Regions from separate parts of the Homo sapiens genome. Here all the other regions are linked to region 1. The links are contacts of gene promoters, found by promoter capture Hi-C in human tissues and cell types (Jung and others, 2019). All regions are on one chromosome and are shown on one strand. Each heading gives the region's core, a stretch centred on a gene start or on the middle of the fragment in contact. The rest is flanking DNA. Distances are from core to core; before and after follow the strand shown. Region 1 holds the start of POU5F2 (POU domain class 5, transcription factor 2). Region 2 overlaps ARB2A (ARB2 cotranscriptional regulator A). Region 3 overlaps ARB2A (ARB2 cotranscriptional regulator A).

The links. Contacts are between HindIII fragments. The study calls those that stand out against the background at their distance.
Region 2: a contact is called between a fragment that was not itself captured here and the fragment with the promoter of POU5F2 in region 1, in 1 of the 25 tissues and cell types used here (H1 embryonic stem cells).
Region 3: a contact is called between a fragment that was not itself captured here and the fragment with the promoter of POU5F2 in region 1, in 3 of the 25 tissues and cell types used here (H1 embryonic stem cells, hippocampus and mesenchymal stem cells).

The regions. Positions count from the first base shown.
Region 1 is chr5:93,740,221-93,742,920 of GRCh38, forward strand. It overlaps POU5F2 (POU domain class 5, transcription factor 2), which reads right to left and starts at 1,380. Exons shown (of 1, transcript NM_153216.2): 1 at 1-1,380. The coding sequence starts at 1,343. The coding sequence ends at 357. All of the region lies in intron 10 of ARB2A (ARB2 cotranscriptional regulator A), which reads right to left. The HindIII fragment of the contact is 4,314 bases long and covers 1-2,700 here.
Region 2 is chr5:93,777,679-93,780,378 of GRCh38, forward strand. All of the region lies in intron 9 of ARB2A (ARB2 cotranscriptional regulator A), which reads right to left. Among named protein-coding and RNA genes, the nearest start is that of POU5F2, 37 kb to the left of the region's middle. The HindIII fragment of the contact is 3,965 bases long and covers 1-2,700 here.
Region 3 is chr5:93,678,527-93,681,226 of GRCh38, forward strand. The region is part of intron 10 of ARB2A (ARB2 cotranscriptional regulator A); the gene reads right to left. Among named protein-coding and RNA genes, the nearest start is that of MIR2277, 59 kb to the left of the region's middle. The HindIII fragment of the contact is 9,368 bases long and covers 1-2,700 here.

The DNA.
Region 1 (2,700 bases), core at 130-2,629:
GTGTTTATGAAAAAATTTAAACCCTATGTTTACTGATAACCACAAGGAATAACAGACACAATATTTAATAAAAAAAGGAACAAAATATCGAAACCATCTATATACTGTAATGTACCTTTAAACCAATGCTAGGGAAAAACAAAGGGAAAACACAAAACTGCAATAAACTTCATCTTCTCTCCCAGGTTTTTCTTGAACAATTCCCACCCCCATTCCCTACTATGTATCCTTAACTTCTTTAGACAGTGAATGAGAAATTAATACTAAAAGCCCTCAAATGAACCCTAGGGACATTTCCTGGGTTTTCCCTTCTTCTCCCCTCTCCAACCGTGCCGTGAAGGGCAAGCCCCTCAGCCCTAAAATCTGAGGAGGCCCAGAGTGGTGGCTGGGGCAGAGGAGTGGGCTACCCCTGCAGAGTAGAGACGTGTATAGTGGGGGATATCCACTGGGAGCCCCAGTCCCAGGTGAAAGCACACTGGTGCTCCTGGGCAAGGAGGCCCGGCTGTCCCCACAATCTCCCGTGGGGAAGCATCATTGGTTGGTCGACTGCCCATCTTGCTGCGGTTATAGAACCAAACTCGAACCACATCCTTCTGCAGCTGGAGGCACCCAGCAATGTGGCTGATTTGCTGGGGTGTGGGCTTAGGGCACCGCTGGAAGAATTTCTCCAGGCTGTTTCCGATTCGTCGCTCTCTGCTTGCCCGTCTCCACTTCCCAGACTGTTGCAGGATCATCTCCATTTTGCATAAGCCCAGAAGGTTCTCTGCTTCCACTTCCTTCAGCCACTTTTTCAGCAGTGGTCGCAGCTTCCACATGTTGGCGACGCTTAGCTGCTGGGCCTCGAAGCGGCAGATGGTCGTCTGGCTAAGCACCTTCCCAAACAGAGCTCCCACAGCGATCCCCACATCGGCCTGCGAGTACCCTAGGCTCAACCTCTTCTGCCTCAACTCCTTGGCCAATTGCTGCAACTCTTTCAGTATGCCCGAGATGTCCTCTGGCGGCGGCAACTTCGGAATGCTCCGCAGGGCAATGTAGGGCCCCGGGAGGGCGCCTTCGGAGGGGCGTCGCAACCAGTCCCCTGCCTCACTAGCTCCAAGACGGGGCCTGCAGGGTGCTATCCAGCCCCGGAATTCGTGTGGCAGGGGACCCAGGGGAATCCTCCACACGTCAGGGCCTGGGCAGATCCCTGGCCTGACTGCCGGCCAGACCATCACCCTGCCAGGGGCCGCCTGGGTGCTCAACCAGGTCAGAGTGTCAACCCGCAGGGGCATCGGCCCTCTGGGGCCGCCCCCACCACTGCCTGGAAGGGGGCAGAAGTGGTTTGAGGGCCTGTGTCCGGCCATGGGTGGAATGGCACCCGCAGCGGCTCTGGTAGGAACTGATGGCCCTCGAGGCTTCAGAACAGCCACCGGCCCCCTCAAGCCCCGCCCCCCAGTGGGCGGAGAAGGCGTTACAAGCCAAGGGTGCCTGTGCGTAGGCGGGGAAATCTGGTAGATCCATAGGAACTCCTGGGTCCTAGGGTTAAGGGAGTGAGCCCCCTACCCTGACCTTTGCTTCCAACTCCCATAGAGGTACAAAGCTCCCTTGTGGGATTTGCATCTCCAAGCTGTCTGGAGTCCCTTACTCACTGCCTCCATCCCCTGCCTGAATAGAACCCAGGTATTTTCTTATGCCTGTTCAGAAACTCTGGACCCTGATCCCCAGGAGCTACCTAACCTCTTGTCTTCACAAATAATTATTAAATATCTATATGCCAGATATTGCTGGGACGACCCCTCAATTCATAAACTGCCCCCTCACTACTATCTTTATGGTCACAAGTACTGCCAACAGTTCCTCTTTGCACATCCCCAGTCCCTGTGCCCTAAGAAACCTAGGCAACCCTGCTTGAGTTTCTAGTTAACATCAGTTTACTACCTCAGATTCTACCCCCGACCCCACCCCCAAACTGCCAGATTCCACTCCCTCCCTGGGGCAGAACTTTGTAACTAATTCCATGTTTCTTCCCCTAGCCTTGAAGGTCCTTTTGTTTCCCATTCTAACCCAGCTTCTTGGTCCAGAGTTTCCTCAACCAACAGAGATCTAGGTGTGTGTCTTCTCTTTCCCACTCTAGAGACAGGTCTCTGAACTGGCCTGACCCACTGTCCCCCACTGAGGATGCTCCCTGCAATATATGACTCACCAACATCAGGCTCCTTTATCCTTAGGCCCTTATCCCACCAGAAACCCAACAATCTTAATTTGTCCCTCCATCATGCCCCTAGCTCAGGCATCCAGTTGTGGGCCCTGTGTGCAGAAAGCTAAGGAGGGAGGGAGAAAGAGAGGCTCTGACCTCAGTTTCAATGTTTCCTAGGAGGAAGAGCACAATGACCTTGGCTAGACAATCATAGCCCTTCATTCTTTAAACCAACCATGATGTGGCTCTGTCCCCACCCACATCTATTGAAACTGGTCTTCTTGAAGTCATCAGTGATTTTTCAGCTGTCAAATCCAATGGCCTTTTAAAAAATCCTCATCCTGCTGTATCTGGCTATAGTGACAACTCTTCTTGCTCCTTCTCCTTTTAAAATTTACATGAAATGGTGATAACAGCCAAATCTGTATTTCAGTTCTGACTTCTCTTCTGATTTCCAGTTTTGTATTTTTCACTGCCCCAAGTCAAATTCATTATCCACACTTCTAAACCTACCTCTCATCCCG
Region 2 (2,700 bases), core at 73-2,572, 37 kb after region 1:
GCTTGCTTCCCTGGTTGTGCACCATGGAATCCGTCCTCACTGTGGAAAGATCCTTGACTGGTAGATCAAGTGTCTTATTGTATTTCCTTAATTCATTCTGTCTGGAAGAAGATGTCAGCTGTGTTGCAGTGAGGAGAGAATTTCAAAGGCCCCAGTCCTCACCAATAAAGGCCGAGGAATGGCTTTTGAATAGATTTGTCAAGGCAACCCTACTGTTCTGGGACCAGGGAGAGCAGGAATAACATAAAGGAAGGGTTGCTGTATGAGATTAGAAAGTGAAGTTCACAAAGCATGGCAGATTTTTGTAAGAAACAGTAGATCAATGAAACTATTGAACTGTGTAGGAAAAAAAACATGAAAACAAACATAACATCTAGTAATGTTCTTAAATACTTTCTCTCTTTTTACATTTAAAATGGATAAAATATTAGTATTTTTCATGCATTACAAAAGCTTGATGGTTTAAAATGGATACATATTCTATAATGTGCTCTCCTAATCTTAATTAGCAGTTGAATGCAAAATTACACAATGTAAGAGTAGAAACTATAAAAGAAATAGGGTTTTAGAAGATATTTCATACATTTGAAATAAGTAAAATTAATATTACCATTGATAGAATACCACATCAGAGAGTTCTAGATAATGCAGAAGATTAGCACACAATTAGCCAGCTTTTATATACAATGTGACACTTGCTTGTAAGAAATAAGTATTCTCCAAAGCAGTGTCAAGATATGTAAATGGATGATTTGTTTTATCATTCATCACAGCCCCTAATAAATTCAAAAATCATGACTTCTATAGGTACTAAAAATAGGCTCCCAATGATACAGGGAGATAGCTTCAATGAAGAATGACTTTCTCTTTCTCTCTCTTTTTTTTAAACAATTCAGTCTTTTCAATGACAGCAATTAGCACTACCGACAGACAGGCAGCGATTAGGTACTGTATGTATTTTAATTATTATTCATCCAACTAGTACCTCCAAATCTGATGAAAGTCAGCTATTAACCAGGTGATATGTCGGTCTTCCTACTGCTCACCTACACTTCACATATGTAAAACTATGTCTTATAGGATTTTCTAGTATTAATATAAGTGATGGCACATTACAGTATGCAGAGGATTAATCATTTTCTAAATTGTTACTTTAAAAAGCTGAACAAAATGAACTTTTGTCCAGTTTGCTCAGCTCACCTTTAACTCAAACACTTAAAGCAAAATATAAGTTAACATTTTATGTTTGTAAAATTTCAGTTTTTATCTAGCCACATGTTTAAGGCTTTGATCTCTCATAAAAACTGGACAGAAGTTTAACATCCTATAATTAAAGTGAGTATGTCCAAAAGTTCTCTGCAATGACCAAGTACCTGTGCAGAACTATACAGATTTGATATGGTCATTTCAGAGTGTGTGTGTGTGTGTGTGTGTGTGTGTGTGTGTGCGCGCGCGCGCGCACGTGCAGGGGCATGTGGCATTTTTACCCCAAAAAGTATATAGAAAAAAGGGCAAAACAAGTTAAATGTTTGCTATATGATAGAGCATAATGAAATAAAATAAACATATGCAAAGAAAGACATACAGCTATTATATCTAAATTCAATCTGTCTGAAATGTTATTTTATCAAATCTAACTCCCTATTCTGAAATGTGTTACTATAGTTTAGAAGTCAAGTGTCTTTTGGTGCTTTTCTAATACTTACGTGTCCCTTTTTTCAAGGCCCCCGTTTGTCCCCATCCCAATTTTTAGTTGAGATGAACACTACCAAAGTGTTCCGAGTAGTGATGCAGGCAGCCCACTAGGAAAGCCCTATCTAAATTCAAAACATGCTGGACAGGGTTAGCAGCCCCTGAGATTTATTCTCAGGTCCCCTGAATAGGCAACAAGGTATGTTGAACTCAAGGTACCAATAGTGCCATGCTTGAGTCTCAGATGCAGCCTCCCCTAGTCCCAACAAACAAGCATAGAGAAAGAAGTCCTTGGCCAGGGCGGGCAGATAGGGACAGATCGCATGACTAATGTTTCTCTGGGTCTGAAGGAAAAAGAGAAAAATAGGTAATGTAGAAAGTATTTCTTAAAGCTAAGTGTTTTCAGTTTAAACATTTTTTTACCCTAAAATGATGATCCTATAGATTTTTGTGGTTGTAAATTTTCCTTTTTGTAACATCCAAAATTTGGGGAGCTATTGATATGGATTAGAAATGCCTACAGGCCCCAGTGCTGAGTGATTCCCTTTGACATTTGAACCAAGGGTCAACAATATTTCAGAGTAGGTTTGAAATAACTTTTTTTAAATAAAAACATTACAATTTAGTATATTATATTTAAAGAGAAAAGCAGGTAGTAGCTATTCCTGTGCAAGGTGTCTGGAGGTATTTGGAGATGCTTACTACCTTGGTTGAGGCTTGATTTTTATTCATTTTTATTGCATTTGTCTGAGTTGTAAATCGCCATTGCTTTAAAGGCTGATTTTTAATGTGAAAGGTTTTGTGTCCTCGGACAAATACAACTATGGTTCACTAGGTCAAGTTTCTAAAGCCCTACACTCAGAGTTGAATGGTGATAGGAAGGGTTCACAACTATTATGTAGAGCCGCACATCTGGTGTGGCTGGAGAATTTCAGAGGCCAGGGGTATGTTGGGAAACATTTGCCCACTCAGCCTAGACAGTCCTGGGGTTTGAAGTAAGAAGTAATT
Region 3 (2,700 bases), core at 76-2,575, 62 kb before region 1:
GGGTGGATCACTTGAGGTCAGGAGTTTAAGGCCAGTTTGGCCAACATGGTGAAACCCCGTCTTTATTAAAAATACAAAAATTAGCTGGGTGTGGTGGCAGGCGCCTGTAATCCCAGCTACTAGGGAGGCTGAGGCAGGAGAATCGCTTGAACCCAGAAGGCGGAGGTTGCAGTGAGCAGAGAGCGGGCCATTACACTCCAGCCTGGGTAACAGAGCAAGACTTCGTCTAAAAAAAAAAAAAGCAATATAACTGAGGTTTTTTCTAAACAAAAGTAATGAGCATACTAACAAGTTAATGGCAAGCCATTTTGTAAATATTACCAACAGGGACTTCAAAGAAACACTTTGAGATGGTCCCATGTGAACTGAGGATTGTGTGTTGGTTTTCACTTGTTTCCTGATACACAGATGAATTACCATCGGCAATGTTTTTCTTAGACATAAAAACCATATACCTATTTGCACACTACAAATTCAAAGAGTGCTTTTAACGTAAAAAGTGGAATATAAGTGACTATGAAGTTCATAACAATTTCTAAAAAATGAAAATAAAAGCATAAAGTAGTTGCTTTCTTTAGATAGGGAATCTTATAAGAGATATGAAATTCAACATCTACTGTACTTTAAGCCTATATCTTATTGATAATTTAAAATTATAATTAGTGTTCTTGGGACTGAATGCTACATAGAAAACTAAATATGCACATATGTATGAGATGTGAGATGCTGCTGCAGGAGAGAAATACCCTATTTTTAAAGCAAAAAAAAAAAATCTTAGTGAAGTCTATCCTTTCATTTATATGTCTCATGTAAATTACACATAATTTTAAATCTTCAACACGTCGAAAATGTCCAGGTCTCATGGCACTTCTTTATTATCTTCGATTTTTCACTTGGCCATGGCAATGGAGGCTTTCTAGAAATATTTAGGAATTAAAAATGATATACTTCAAATTGAACTAAGAAATGACCACTAGACAAAAATTAATTTTTATTTATATAATCTGGTTAAAAAATATATGATTTTTCTACTCTAAAGGCATTTTCTTATGCAGTAACACCACAAAAATAGCTTAAGTTTAAAATAGTGGATTTCCCATATGGTTAGTCCACAGCAAGATAAAGTTGTAAATGAGGGGACTATGTGAAGAAAACATAAAAAAGCCTTAAGGGCACATGCAAAAAATGTGATATTGCATGATTTACATACACAATTTTATGCCCCAAAATTCAAAGAGAAAAACTTAATATGTCATAACTTAAACTGTATTTCATATAAAGTATTCCTGATTACGTATTTAACTCAAAGATACATAACTCAATTTAGAGCATAATGTGGGAGAGGAGTTAGTAAGAATCTAACCTTTTGCATTTCTTGACTTTTTTGGGCTTGTGGTAATGTTGTATTTATAGAGATTCTACACTTTCAAATTTAAGTCTTGAAATGTCAAAAAAAATCCCAAAGCTGAGATCTCACAGAAGGTGATTTTTAACAGTCCTTAAAAGTAAAGACTTATGATCTTCTGACAACTGGAGCTTTCACATTTTAAGATTTAAAAATTTCAGTCCTAATATTACATAAGCATACACATCGACACACTTTCAAAGATTCCATCATCTTTGATAGGCCTGGAACGAAGAGGAAAATAAGAAAACAAAAAGTTGTGAGGTTCAGGAATACTGTTTAAGTATAAATATAAAGAAGTAAATACTTAAAAACTCTTGTGTATTTAAAGGTGGTCTCTTATAAGAATATATTTCCAATGTAAATCACAACATCTAGTTAATTTTTGATTATTTGTCATAATAAAAAATGGAGATTCCCCCAATATTTTAGAGTTATAACTAGAAGAAACAGAGTCTCAGAGAACTTAAGTGATTTGATCAAGATCATAATTGCTAGTTAGTTTTAGAGTTATGTCTGGAATATACCAAGTATCTTGTCTTCAAGTTTCTCCTCACTCTCATAGCTAAAATTTTCAACATAATTCTTGGAATTCATTTATTTTCAATGTATCCTGCTATCATCCATGTAATTACAGGTATGCCACAAACTGTTTAGTTTTCTCATCACTTTCAAGTCAACAAGTATTTTTCTACCACCTACTATCAGCCAGATTTAGAGATTACAATGATGGTAAGACAAAGGTTAATCTGATTATTGGGTATTTTATGGTCTCATGAGGGAAAGAGGATTGGCAAACAAGTATCATTAAAGGCACTACTTAATTTGACCAGAAAGGTGTCAAAGTCAAAGGTAACATTCGGTTTCTGATTACCAAGATTAAAGACAGGGTCTGGACTAAATGATGTCTCAGTACCTTTCTAATGAAGTTTTGAGTTTTATCTTTCCCTTTCTTCTATTGTTTCTTAGATAGATTTATAAATAAGTAGGTAATTGATAAGACCAAAATTTCCAGTAATTTCAGTGGAACACAGTGATATGTTTATGAATAGGTACACAATGAACAAAGCCTTTTATCTGCAAATAAGTTTGTGAAATTATGGATTTCTCTGGCACAGGCCTTTAATGTGTTAATGTGTAGTGTATCTCCAAGAAGAAGATTTTATATGTAATGTTTCCTTTTTTTTCCAGTCAAGAAAAAAAAATCCCCCAAATAGGTGCTTTTATTACTATTTTGAGCTCTCAGAATTACTATTCCCAGTTGTATAGTTTGGGAAACACGAGCTCCAGACTGT